Linked DNA regions of Homo sapiens: regions 1, 3 and 4 are each linked to region 2. Evidence: promoter capture Hi-C in 16 types of primary human blood cells and fetal thymus (Javierre and others, 2016). All regions are on one chromosome and are shown on one strand. Each heading gives the region's core, a stretch centred on a gene start or on the middle of the fragment in contact. The rest is flanking DNA. Distances are from core to core; before and after follow the strand shown. Region 1 overlaps LINC02774 (long intergenic non-protein coding RNA 2774). Region 2 holds the start of WDR64 (WD repeat domain 64). Region 3 overlaps CATSPERE (catsper channel auxiliary subunit epsilon). Region 4 overlaps ADSS2 (adenylosuccinate synthase 2).

What was found. The method cuts DNA at HindIII sites, captures the fragments that hold promoters and counts their contacts. A CHiCAGO score of 5 or more calls a contact.
Region 1: a contact is called between a fragment that was not itself captured here and the fragment with the promoter of WDR64 in region 2, in 1 of 17 cell types (fetal thymus). The highest score is 5.4, in fetal thymus.
Region 3: a contact is called between a fragment that was not itself captured here and the fragment with the promoter of WDR64 in region 2, in 2 of 17 cell types (fetal thymus and non-activated CD4 T cells). The highest score is 5.9, in fetal thymus.
Region 4: a fragment that was not itself captured here is called in contact with the fragment with the promoter of WDR64 in region 2 in 3 of 17 cell types (monocytes, activated CD4 T cells and fetal thymus); the score reaches 7.0 in monocytes.

What each region holds. Positions count from the first base shown.
Region 1 is chr1:244,031,821-244,035,282 of GRCh38, forward strand. The region is part of intron 8 of LINC02774 (long intergenic non-protein coding RNA 2774); the gene reads left to right. Among named protein-coding and RNA genes, the nearest start is that of ZBTB18, 18 kb to the right of the region's middle. The HindIII fragment of the contact is 1,411 bases long and covers 691-2,101 here.
Region 2 is chr1:241,650,630-241,654,013 of GRCh38, forward strand. WDR64 (WD repeat domain 64) reads left to right here and starts at 1,652. Exons shown (of 28, transcript NM_001367482.1): 1 at 1,652-2,000. The coding sequence starts at 1,856. The HindIII fragment of the contact is 1,763 bases long and covers 414-2,176 here.
Region 3 is chr1:244,464,314-244,467,454 of GRCh38, forward strand. All of the region lies in intron 2 of CATSPERE (catsper channel auxiliary subunit epsilon), which reads left to right. Among named protein-coding and RNA genes, the nearest start is that of CATSPERE, 4.6 kb to the left of the region's middle. The HindIII fragment of the contact is 6,278 bases long and covers 1-3,141 here.
Region 4 is chr1:244,443,778-244,447,047 of GRCh38, forward strand. All of the region lies in intron 1 of ADSS2 (adenylosuccinate synthase 2), which reads right to left. Among named protein-coding and RNA genes, the nearest start is that of ADSS2, 6.5 kb to the right of the region's middle. The HindIII fragment of the contact is 1,046 bases long and covers 787-1,832 here.

The sequences.
Region 1 (3,462 bases), core at 146-2,645, 2.4 Mb after region 2:
TCTGCCTCAATGATCCATTGTTATCTCTAGCAATATGCTCCCAGACTACAAGTTAAGTGAATTTTTTTTTGAGACAGGGTCTTGCTCTGTCTCCCAGACTGTAGTGCAGTGGTGCAATCAGCACTCACTGCAGCCTGTATCTCCCAGGCTCAAGTGATGCTCCTGTATCAGCCTCCCAAGTAGCTGGGACCTCAAGTGTGCACCACTATGCCCGGCTAATTAATTTTTTAAAAAAATTTTTTGTAGAGATGGGGTCTTGCTATGTTGCCCAGGCTGGTCTCAAACTCTTAGCCTCAAGTGATCCTCCTGCCTCAGCCTCCCAAATAATACTTGACAATGATGCTGAACTCTGAATAGAGAAATTATGAGCGTGAGCCACCATGCCCTGCCTCTTTTTTTTTTTTTTTTTTTTTTTTTTTTTGAGACGGAGTCTCACTCTGTCACCCAGGCTGGAGTGCAGTGGCGCAATCACGGCTGACTGCAAGCTCCGCCTCCCGGGTTCACGCCATTCTCCTGCCTCAGCCTCCCGAGTAGCTGGAACTACAGGCGCCCGCCACCACGCCCGGCTAATTTTTTGTATTTTTAGTAGAGACGGGGTTTCACCATGTTAGCCAGGATGGACTCAATCTCCTGACCTCATGATCCAGCCGCCTCAGCCTCCCAAAGTGCTGGGATATAAAGCCCTATGGAAGCTTTCCTTAACGTCCTCTATAGATGTTCAAAAATTATGCCTCATCATGGGAAAGCACACAAACAAGGAAGAAGGGCAACAGTAGGAATAAGAAGAACAGTAGCTGGCCAGGGCTTGAGATCAAAGCCACACCATTTCTGGAGGCTCATCTTCCATTATTAGAAATGTCTGAGTCTTAGATGCTTCAATATTAAGATGACATAAGAAGACGATTTTGTGACATAGTGAGTTGTATCCTTGAGCATGTGGACCTTGTTAAGTGGGCCTTTAGAAAATAAATTTAAAACAGGGATATTGGAAACTATATTTTCTGTTTATTTACTAGGTAAGAGAAGGCTATGCTCTTGTTTGTTCTTTCTGGGAATACAGCTAGACTAAATTTCTCAGACTCTCTTGCAGTTAATTTTGGGCCATACAACAGAGTTCTGGCCAATAGCTTGTTGGTAGAAGCGTCAAATGCCACCCTAGGCATGGACCATGTTAAATCTCCTTGTATAATCCTATGTGATATCTATTTCTATTCTGTGGGGACTTGGGAGGCCATATATGGAAGATGATTGGAGTCTCCGGTGGCCGAGATGGAAAAAGATTGGTCTCTGAATAATTGCATGGAAGAGGGTCCCACATTCTTCTCCCCGCCAACCAGAACACATTGGGCTAGTCTATCCTCAGAAATAAACCTTTCTGCCCTTTGATCAGCATCTCCTCATTCTCCTCACCCCTGGTAACTGCCATTCCATTCTCTGCTTCTATGAGTTCAACTTTTTAGAGTCCACATATAAGTGAGATCACGCAGCATCTGTCTTTCTGTGTCTGCCTTATTTCACTTAGCATGACAGCCTTTCAGTTCATCCATGTCACAAATGACAGGATCTCCTTTTTAAACGCTGACTAGTATTCCGTTGTACATATACCATGTTTTCCTTATCTATTCACCTGTCGATGGACACTTAGATTGATTCCATACCCGGACTATTGTGAATAGTGCTGCAATGAATATGAGAGTGCAGATATCTCTTCAACATACTGACTTCATTTCCTTTAGATGTAACCCAGGAATAGGAGTGCTGGATCATATATTAGTGTTATTTTAATTTTTTTAGGAACCCCCCCACCCTGCCATACAGTTTTCCATAATGGCTGCACCAATGTATATCTCCACCAACCTTGATTTATTTATTATGGAAACGAAGTTGGGAAGGATGCAGTCCTGGGCTGGTATGGTAATTTTAGGAAGTCATTAAATTAAGAAACTTCCTCCAGCTCTCCTCTCCAGCCTCCTTATAATGTGGCTCTCATCCTTGTGGTCCATCATGTCAGCCCAAGCTCCAGCCATCACGTCCATATTCCAGACAATAGAAAGCAACCAAGAAGAAAGGGTCAAAAGGCATATTCATGGTCTTTTAAGGAAGCTTCCTGTAAACTGCACAAAACACTTCCACGTGCATTTCATTGTCCAGAATTTGTCATAGGGAGCTATCTAGCTGCAAAGAAAGCTGGGAAAGCTTTACTTGGGGGCAGTCATGTACTTGAGAGTTTTGTCACTAAAGAAGAAGGGGAGAACAGCTATTGGGGTAGGGGACCAGAAGACTTTGCTACAGTTAATAACTGCAAGCTTCCTACTGTGAGGGAAAAATTAGCGTATACAAAATGCAATTTTAGACACACACATGTGTTCATGTATACACTTCTTTGTTTACACTTAAACATATGTAACATATAGAGCTTGCCATTTTCACCCTAGTCTTAGCCCATCAGAATTCCTCTGTAGTCAGTGAATTAACTATTCTCCAGTGTTTTGGGCATAAATGTAACTTTACCTGATGGCAAAAGAAAAATAAGGATACTTTACATTTTGTGTATCAGCATGCATAGAAATACAGTCATGTGCCACCTAATGATGTTTTGGTCACCAATGAACTGCAAATATGATGGTCCCATAGGATTATGAGCTAAAAACTTCCTATCACTTAGTGACACAGCCATTGTACCATCATAGCACAATGCATTACACATTTTTCCAGTGATGTCGGTATAAACAAACCTACCTGTGCTATCAGTTGTATAAAAGTACAGTACATGCATTTATGTACAATAAATAATACTTGATAATGATACTAAACAACGATGTCATTGATTTATGTTTTTACTACACTATACTTTTATTATTATATTTTAGAGTGTACTCCTTCTACTTATTTTTTTAAAAAAAAGTTAACTGCAAAACAGCCTCAGGTCAGTCCTTCAGTAGGTGTTCTAGAAGAAGGCACCGTTATCACAGGAGATGACAGCTCCACGTGTGTTACTGCCCCGAAGACCTTCCAGTGAAAGATGATGTGACATGGATGATCCTGACCCTGTGTAGACCTAGGTTAATGTGTGTCTTTGCATCTCAGCGTTTCACAAAAAAGTTTAAAAAGTAAAAAACGAATTTTAAAAATAGAAAAAAGCTCATAGAATATGGATAGAAATATTTTTTGTACAGCTGTACAATAAATATGTTTATGTTTTAAGCTAAGTGTTATCCCAAAAGAGACAAAAAGTTTTTAAAAAATTGAAAAGTTTACAAAGTAAAAAAGTGACTGTAAGCTAAGGTTAATTTACTAGTGAAAAAAAATTTTTAAATAAATTTAGTGTAGCCTAAGTGTACGTACCATGTTCACAGAAGGTCTACAGTAGTGGACAGTGACGTTCTAGGCCTTCGCATTGACCTGCCCTCACCCACTGACTCACCCAGAGCAACTTCCAGTCCTGCAAGCTCCATTCATGGT
Region 2 (3,384 bases), core at 402-2,901:
CCAATCTCAGGACTTTACGCCTGCTGTCCCTAGAACATCCTTCTACCATTTATCCACATGACTTGCTACCTCACTTCTTTCAGGTTTCTGCCCAGAAATCTTTCTATTAATGGGGAATTCCCTGATCTCCCTACCTCTTTTACTTTGATTTTTACCCCCACCCTAATACACACAAAATTCCTCTCTCTTCGTAGCACAATTGCTCACTGATACATTATTTATTTGTTTGTCTGTCTTCTGCATTAGTCTATAAACTTGAGAAGCTATTTTATTCACTGCTGTATCCTTAGTGTCTAAAACAGCCTCTAGCATGAAGTGTGTATTCAGTAAATATTTCCTAGATGAATTAATGGTGAATGCATTAGAATTGTAGGAAGAGTGGTTCTCCAGACATCACTGTACAGTGGTTTGAAAGCTTTAAAGGAAAAAGGAGGAGAAACAAATGGGGTTGGGGGATTTTTCTTTAAATAAAATCTTACTGCGCTCTCCTAACAGATAGTTAGAGGTGGACACCAAGAAGACAGTACTGGAATTGGAGGTGCTCTGAAATGCCATCTGCTTCATCTCTGAATGCAAGTTCTTGAAGAATGTTTTAAAAGATGGACTACCAAGGGGTAGGAAATTTATCTAACTCACCTAAGCCATAGGAAGTTAACTAATTGTTGAGAAACATTAAACAACTTCTCCTTCCCATAAAAAGTTGAAAATTGGAAAACCGGAGTCAATAGCATTTGGACTAAGTCGGATTGGAGATTGCAATGACTGGGAAGGAGATGTGCAGAAAGGCCTCTTCTAATTCATCTGACCTCTTACCTTGAAAAGCTGTCCTCATAATCAGAAGCCACTCCTTCCTTATCCTTGGCTCACTTTATTATTTCAATCGAAGGACAATGCACAAAGGAAGAAGAGCATTTGTATTCCCTATGACCTCTAAAAATGTTTGTGGTAGAAATGACAGGTGCTGAAATACATTTCATCTTTAGAAGTTCGAATTTCCATATCCAGTACAGTGGCAAGAATAAGTGTGAATATTACTTTTTTTTTTTTTTGAGAGGAAGTCTCACTCTGTCACCCAGGTTGGAGTGCAGTGGTGTGATCTCAACTCACTGTAACCTCTGACTCCCAGGTTCAAGTGATTCTCTTGCCTCAGCCTCCTGAGTAGCTGAGATCACAGGTGCCCGCCACCACATCCAGCTAATTTTTGTATTTTTAGTAGAGACGGGGGTTTCACCATGTTGGCCAGGCTGGTCTTGAACTCCTGACCTCAGGTGGTCCACCCACCTCGGCCTCCCAAAGTGCTGGGATTACAAGAATGAGCCGCCGTGCCTGGCCAAACTTTACTTTCCGCGGTATTGTGAGGAAGGCAAAAGGTTTGAGGTGAGAAGAGATACACGAGGGAGAAAGTATTACCCAGTTTTCTTACTTGTTATTTACTCATTCCTTTTCCCTCTCAAGCAGTATACACAACACACACATGTGCACGCGCACACACACACACAGTCTGTGGGGAAAAAAATATCTCAATCTCCTCCTTATGAAGGAAGTAGGATGTTACAGAGATATTATGATGCAATGAGGACCCTATGAAGGACACTGATGACATTGTGAGGTCAGGATTTTTACTGAAATGTTTGTCTGTATGAAATGCATCAGACCTAAATCAGCTTTCCTCCCTGCTAACATCCTAGTGGCAACTCTTACTCCTACCCGCACTATGGGATTTTAAGATCAAAGGAATTAGACCTAGGGCAAAAACTGAGACAGCAGGGAGGCACTGTAACAACTGGAAAGTTTTCCAAATTGGTAAACTTGCAGTATTCTTTCTGTACAGAAGTAAAAGATCCCCTATGTCCCTATGGATATCAGGAAGGAAAAGCGTCTCAACATGGCACTTCAGATGAGCAATTTCAAAAAGGCTTTGAACAGGTTTGAAAAATTGGTTGAACAAACAGCAGCCCAGAAAAGAGATGAAAGAGCAGGCTTATTTATCCATAAAGAAGGTAAGATCAGTGATTACACGATAGTCCAATTGGGTCTGTTGGTTAGAACTGGAAAATGTTTTAAGCCATCAGAGAGAAGCATCAGAGCTTAATGTGAAAGAATGGGTGCTGAAAGGGGATGAAGACCTCAGTTCTTGTTCTTTCTCTGTCCCTAAATAACAAAGCGGACATGAGGAAGCTTTTGTTTTGTTTTGTTTTTGTTTTTGTTTTTTTTTTTTACTTCTCTGAACCGAAGTTGCTTCAATTGTAAAACTATGGGATTGGATTAAATGACGTCCAGTGTTCTTCTGTAGACGCTGCCATTTGATGGCTCACTGGTTGACCTGGGATGCTCAGTAATGTATAGCACTGCTTTTTCTTAGCCTAAAGATATCATGAGACCATAAAGACTTTCATAAGAAGTGCAGCTTCCTGCCTCACCATGATTCCATTGTCTTGGCCACTCTCCATATCTCTAGGCAGGAATGATCTTGAGGATGCAAGCTAAGGAGAATATGGTGGACAGTGGTCTTACAGGAGGATTTGCAGCAGAGATGCCAGTGCATAGACAAGATTCAAGGGGAGTGGTGTAGTGTACAGCTTTGGCGTATTGAGGACAGCTGTGAAAAATAAAGCTACATGGCAGAGTGAAAGACTAACAGAACAAACCCTGCTGTTGCAATGAAAGGAGCAGAGCCCATATAATTGCTAAAGGGATAGTATAGCCAGCCTCTGAGTGTGCCAGGCTGCATAGTAATTTGTAAGTGAAAATCTTGACTTTGGGTGTTCAAACCCAAGCTGGTATTAATTGAATAGTATTTAATAATTTATAGTCATGTTAATCAATGTCATTATGTTCATTTTATTTGTGGAAAAAATGGGAGCTGAAGATAAATCATTTGCCCAAGTTACCCAAATTCTTTTCTTTTCTTTTCTTTTTTTTTTTTTTTCTGAGACGGAGTTTCATTCCTATTGCCCAGGCTGGAGTGAAATGGTGCGATCTCGGCTCTCTGCAACCTCTGCCTCCCAGGTTCAAGTGATTCTCCTGCCTCAGCCTCCCAAGTAGCTGGGATTACAGGCACCCACCACCACACCCGGCTAATTTTTTGTATTTTTAGTAGAGACGGGGTTTCACCATGTTGGCCAGGCTGGTCTTGAACTCTTGACCTCAGGTGATCCACCTGCCATGGCCTCCCAAAGTGCTGGGATTACAGGTGTGAGCCACCGTGCCCGGCCAAAGTCACCCAACTTCTAAGTGTTAAAGCTAAGACTTGGACCTTTTGGATATGCTTTTTCGGTGATTGGGAACTTGACTGGGCCTTCTAAACTACTCAACAAAACTTGCATTTTTTCCTAGTCAGTTTGTTTTACCTCTCTCTAATTGGTTTTTCAAACCCTTGACACT
Region 3 (3,141 bases), core at 452-2,951, 2.8 Mb after region 2:
CACCCAAACTATAGACCTCATTCTCTATATTACTTTTCTTATTCAACACTTTCTACTTCATTTCTTCTTATCTGCCTAATTACTGGTGTAAATCAATTATATTTTATATACCCCTATTGCTGGACATATAGCTTCCTACCATCACAAACAATACTGGAATGAGTGTCCTCTATAGGTCCTTTTATGTATCTGTGTATCTGTGCAATCATTTTCCTGCTATATGTAGCCAAATAGAGTTGCCTGGCCATGGGAAATACACTTAATTTAACAAAGTTCCGCAAGATTGTTTCCCGAATGGCAGTTACAATTTATATTCTCACTCAATGTACATCTTCACCAAAATTTGGTGTTATTAAATTTCCTATTTTTTTTTTACCAATCTCATTATTATCCAGTGATAGCTATTGCTGTTGTTATTTTCAGTTTCTTTGATGACTAGTGATTTTGAGCATCTCTTCGCATATTATGTAGGCTTCTCCTTCTATTACCTGTTCATACCCTTTGCCTATTTTTCATTTAATTTTCTGCCTTTTTCTTACTCGTTAACACAGTGCTATCTACATTGCGTTGTAAAAATTAATCAAATGTTGGTTTCAAAGATTCAGTTATCTCAAGTTTCTGTTAACTTTGTTCATGGATACTTTACTGAAAAAAAAAAAAGCTGAATTTTGATGAGCCAAATCTCTCCCCTCCTTTGCCTTATGATTTAAACTTTTGGAGGCTCCTTTTTTTTTTTTTTGGAGACAGAGTCTCACTCTGTCACCCAGGCTGGAGTGCAGTGGTGCAATCTTGGCTCACTGTAACCTCTGCCTCCCGGGTTCAAGCGATTCTTCTGCCTCAGCCTCCTGAGTAGCTGGGACTACAGGTGCACACTACCATGCCCGGCTAATTTTTGTACTTGTAGTAGAGATGGGATTTCACCATATTGGCCAGGCTGGTCTTGAACTCCTGACCTCGTGATCCACCAGCCTCGGCCTCCCAAAGTGCTGGGATTACAGGCCTGAGCCACCGCGCCTGTCCAGGGCTCTTATTTAATAAAAATATTTGCTTACCCTGAACTGAAATGTTTTTATAATTTTAGTTTATATTTCTTATATTTTTACCTTTAAAATATAGGTCATAAATCCATCTAGAGTCTGCCTTGTATATAGTACAATAGGCATTCACATTACTTTTTTCACATAATGAACCAGAATCTATTAAACAACTCACTGTTCCCCTATTACCTTTCTCATGTCACCTTTGTTCCGTATGTAGATGAGTTGTTTGTGAACTTTCTTATTTGTCCTGGTGCCAATTCTACACTCTCTTAACTGCTATAGCTTTCTAATGAGTCTTCGGATCTGGTCCTGTGAACATCTAGTTTGTTCTTCCACAAGACTACTTTGGCTATTTGCGTTTTTATATAAATTTTAGAATAAGGCTGTTAGTTTTCACAAGCAAAAATCTGCTGAGATTTTGATTGGGATTGCACTTGGGGAGAACTGACATTGTTATCATAGTAACTGGTATCATTATGATATTGAATCTTCCAATTCATGAAGAATGATGTAGCCCTCCAGAGTTGATCTCATTATCTTCTTCCTAACTTTAGTAGATTTCTTCCAACATCTCCCAATTAAACAGATGCTCCCTTTTGGGCAGAGAGAGATACATTTCATTAAATTAACTAAGTATTCATTGGTTCCTAATTTATTGAATATGGTAAAAAATAGTCGCTATAAGTGATACTTATAGTGAATTGTGAAATGCCTTTTCACAGTCTACAGAAAAAAGTTTTTGAGTTTTCTCAGACTTGTTATCATAGTGAATCATATTAACATATTCACTTTTATTGTATCATCCTTGGATTTTGGGAAAACCCCACACGGTACCAATGTAGTAGTTCAATATGCTCTCAGGGACTATTGTTAATATTTTATATAAGATTCTTTTATCAATATTCATACATGAGTTTGCTCCACAGCAGTTATCTCAGTGGGGATGCCACTGAAATTTTGAGCAGGAAAAATTTTCATTGTATGGAACTATCCTTTGCTTTGCAGAACAGCTTGCTTCCCTGGTTCCCAAACACTAAGTAGCAGTGACAATCCTCAGGGATTGTGTGACCTGAGATACTCTTCCATATTTCCAGATGCCCTCTAAGGCAGGCAGAATCCAGCCAGTACACACTTGGGTAGCATGCTGCCTGGTATTCGCTTGGAACTGTCAGTGTCTGTGCTGTACAACTTGTTAAACACTTGTCATATTATCCCTGTCTTTAAGGGAGCGTGTAGCAGTCAGGGGTCAGAGGACAGCAGTAACCACTCTAGATATTTCAAGCAGAAATTTATTTGCTACAGGAAATTAGGTGCTCACCAAACTGTTGGGAGGGCTAGGAAAGCAAGGGTCTTAGAAACCCCCACTAATTTTTAGGTTTATCAATAGTCAAAAAGTTGCTGTTGCCACCAGAGATCAGGACCTGGAGGAAATAGGTGCCCATGTCACAAGTCTCTCCCAGTACCTAATGAGGGATGGTGCTCAATGGAAAGATGGGACAGAGGCCTTCCCCAAAACCACCTATCTTTGAAGCCTGGACTTTTGGTACCACTGCCTGAGGAAGAAGAATGGCTTCCTCTTTTTTACAAGTTCCAGTCCACATCTGATTTTCAGTCGTTCAGAACCCTTGAGGGTTCCTGGTTTCCAGCTCCTGCAATCTAGGGATAGCCTAGAGTTATGCAGGAATGAATGATCATGGCTGAGAATACAATACACAACAGTCAATTCCTAGCACTGTGTGGTATCACTCGTAAATTAGAATCAGGAGTCTTTAGTTAATTTTTACTAAATAACTCAACAATTTCTGTTGTGTTTTCTATCAGTGTTGTGCTCCCTTTATAAATAAATAAATATTTATAATTTGAACCAGGCCCAGATGGTTTTGTGTGGGAATTCTACCAAATCTTTAAGAAGCACATCATTTCAGTATTGTTTAAATTTTTCTAAAGTATAAAAAAGAAAGGAGGAAAAGACCTAAGGGGATATTTCACAAAAAAGGATGTACAAATGACCAGCAAACTTATGAAAAATTAGTGAAGTGTGAATTAAAATTACAGGGAGATGTAATTACAAACCAATCAGAATGCCTAAAATTAAGAAGAC
Region 4 (3,270 bases), core at 60-2,559, 2.8 Mb after region 2:
GCACGGAAAGGTTTAGTGGCTCCTCACAAGCCACGTGGCAGGGAGGCGGAGTGGCAGAGTGGCGGAGCGGCTCTCCAGCCACGTGCTGACACCGCCTTCTCATTCACACTTCCATCAGTGCCACAACACTGCATGGCAGGCTTTCAGGTTGAGGCCAATTTTTAAACCATTTTACTTCTGAAATATACCCTACCCCCCACCAACACCCCAAGAAACAAAAAACAGCATGAGTCCACAAGTAGCTACGTGGCAGGTTTCTTTGAGGAAAAGCATAAGCTTATAATGCCTTATATGATGTTCTTCTTATATTAAATACCAAGAATAAATGCAGGTTAATTTTATTAAAGTGAACAATATATGAAAGAAAATTCAATTGCAGTCACAAAACATCCCCTAATATAGTATATATTTTACCAATTTTCTTTGACTGTTATTCTTACATTAAGATGAAATACAGGCCGGGCGCGGTGGCTCACGCCTGTAATCCCAGCACTTTGGGAGGCCGAGGCGGGCGGATCACGAGGTCAGGAGATCGAGACCATCCCGGCTAAAACGGTGAAACCCCGTCTCTACTAAAAATACAAAAAATTAGCCGGGCGTAGTGGCGGGCGCCTGTAGTCCCAGCTACTTGGGAGGCTGAGGCAGGAGAATGGCGTGAACCCGGGAGGCGGAGCTTGCAGTGAGCCGAGATCCCGCCACTGCACTCCAGCCTGGGCGACAGAGCGAGACTCCATCTCAAAAAAAAAAAAAAAAAAAAAAGATGAAATACAAAGAAAATATTAAATAAGCTTCTTAATTACCAGGAAAAAATGTATCTCATCACAGAGCTATGAAATAAACTGGAACATCATGATAGAAACAAAAAGCAGGACTAAAATTCTATGTTCTCAAAGCTGAAAAGCAAAGTTTCTGATGTATGCTTTTAGTTTTTACCATCAATACATAGCTAATTTTCATTATTTTAATTAAGGTTAAAATAATAAAAACCAATTTAACTCTATTTTTTGTTCCAGAAAAGCACTACAGGTCAATAGCACATTAGAGTTTTGGAAAACAATTTATAAATGAGAACAATCCAGAACAAATGCTTCCTCATACCTTATTTTCCTATACAAAATTAACTCCAGGTTAGTTATAGCTTTTGTATGCTCAGTCCCCCTCCTTTTCCCCTACTTTGCAAATCATAGGAATCATCCCCCCAGCCACAGCAAACTGATCCAGGCAGGGAAACATGTTCCAACCTGAGCCAGTCAGCTCCTCTCCCTTGGGAATCTGAATTTGAGTACTGAGAAGGAAAGCAATAGCAGTCTGAGATGCCTGTCACCTACGGGAAGCATCCTAAAGAAAAAGGTTGCCAGTTCTAGCTGCTGAAATTCCAGGAGCAGGCTTCATCTCAGGCCACCATCCTGCTCTTCCTTTAAACAAATCCCCATTTTGCTTGAGATAGTTTCTTTCCATTGCTTGCAAACAAAGAACACAAATGATTCACAAAAAAAACTTACTACAACATAATATACACCTTGCTGAATTTACATCTTGTACTAGTGAAACTGAATATTAAAATGATTGCTAGATATTAATAACATTTTATGCTGTCAAGGACAATACTTTAAAGCATTACTGCAGGATAGAGGAATGATATAATAGTATTTAGTTATTCTGTAACTGTTCTCAGTTTTTCCATGCATTCCTTTTCTTCCTAATTTGATGTTTAGTTTAAGGAAGTCGGAAGACAAGTGTTTTGAATTTTCTTTCCATGACTCCTCAGAACCAGAGGCTGTCAAATCCAATTATAGAATAAAATTTTGGATCAGGAAATGCTAATATGTGTAAGCTTCTAGCTAAGAAGCTCCAAAGGTCCAGGGGAGGTTAAAAAAAAAAAAAGTTTGGAAAGGAATTAAATGATATTAGTTTACAAAAGTGACTCTTGATTCTTAACTTGGTTTCACTACTGGGCCTTCTCCTTCCCTAAATCACTCCTTTCTTCGCTCCCCCAAGTGCATTTCTGCTGTGGTAGAGAGATGAAGGCAGTGAATGATCCTCAGTGTTGTAAACCTGAAACAATGGTCTCTTTTCCAGAATACAGGCCCAAGTGTCAAGGGCTACCAATTTCATGCACAAAGCCCAGAGGCATTTTTCAGGCTAGTTAGGCCTCTGTGTCTTATCTTTGTCCTTTTGCTTTGAATATATGAACAACCTACTGTAATCACAGAGCTCAAAATGAACATCAGGAAGTCAGTGGCCACTATGGATTACAGGAGAGAGCAGCAGTGTCTCAGATCCCATGCCCCTGAACTATTTCAGCAACCAAAAAAGGGTTGCTATTTTTTTGTCTAATCTTCAAACTTCTTAAGAGCCTAAAAATCTTTGGAGTCAATGCTTATTATCTATGCTGCTTTCAGGGTAAAGATTGTAAGATCTGTGTCTCCTCCTTTCCAGATGAAACATGTTACCATTCACCAAAACTAAAGCACTTATCAATCCACAGCAATAAAGCAGTTATAAATGATGATTGTTCTTTCATGAAAGCATTCACATAACTGCAATTAGCTTATGATTCCAAAGTAGAGCAGGTTAAGTTACTACCAGCAAGTTGATCAAATTTAACTATGTAGCAGTAACCAGACACACTAGACAGCAAGAGAAAAAAATACACAGGGTATCTGAATTTCTTTCTAGCAAAGATATCCCAGCTCAGTTATCCATTAAAGGTTTAAAGGTATCCACTTTACTTTGCATGATTATAGTTACCTTCTAGTTTCATACACACATAAATGTCACAAATGATGAAAACCTCAGATACCTTATATTTTAGACCTAACATTACTATTATGAAATAACTTCTCACAATGAAAGTGGAAAGGGGCCTTGCCTGAGAGAATCTTAGGTTCCTAAGAAGCTTTAGACTCTGGGTACCAAACTCTAATATTCTTTCACACTCACCAAACCAGGGTCATAGATGAGGCCATAAGACATCCAACCAAAAATGTATAAACCAACGATGTCACACAGCTCTTTGTAAATGTTTGATAAAAATTCACCTAATTAAATTCATGAAAATATTTTCTTAAAAACACATTGAAATTAAACTACAGATTTCAAGTCAAAAAAGTTTTCTCAATAATAAAATTCTTCCTTTAAAAAAGATGTTAAAACTTAATATAGACAAAAATCTCATTTTTAGAAATCTCATGGAGCCTCTTTTCAAAAAAGAATTTTGTTATATGAATCAAATATAAATTTTGGTTCAATGTAAAGAACTATCCCATC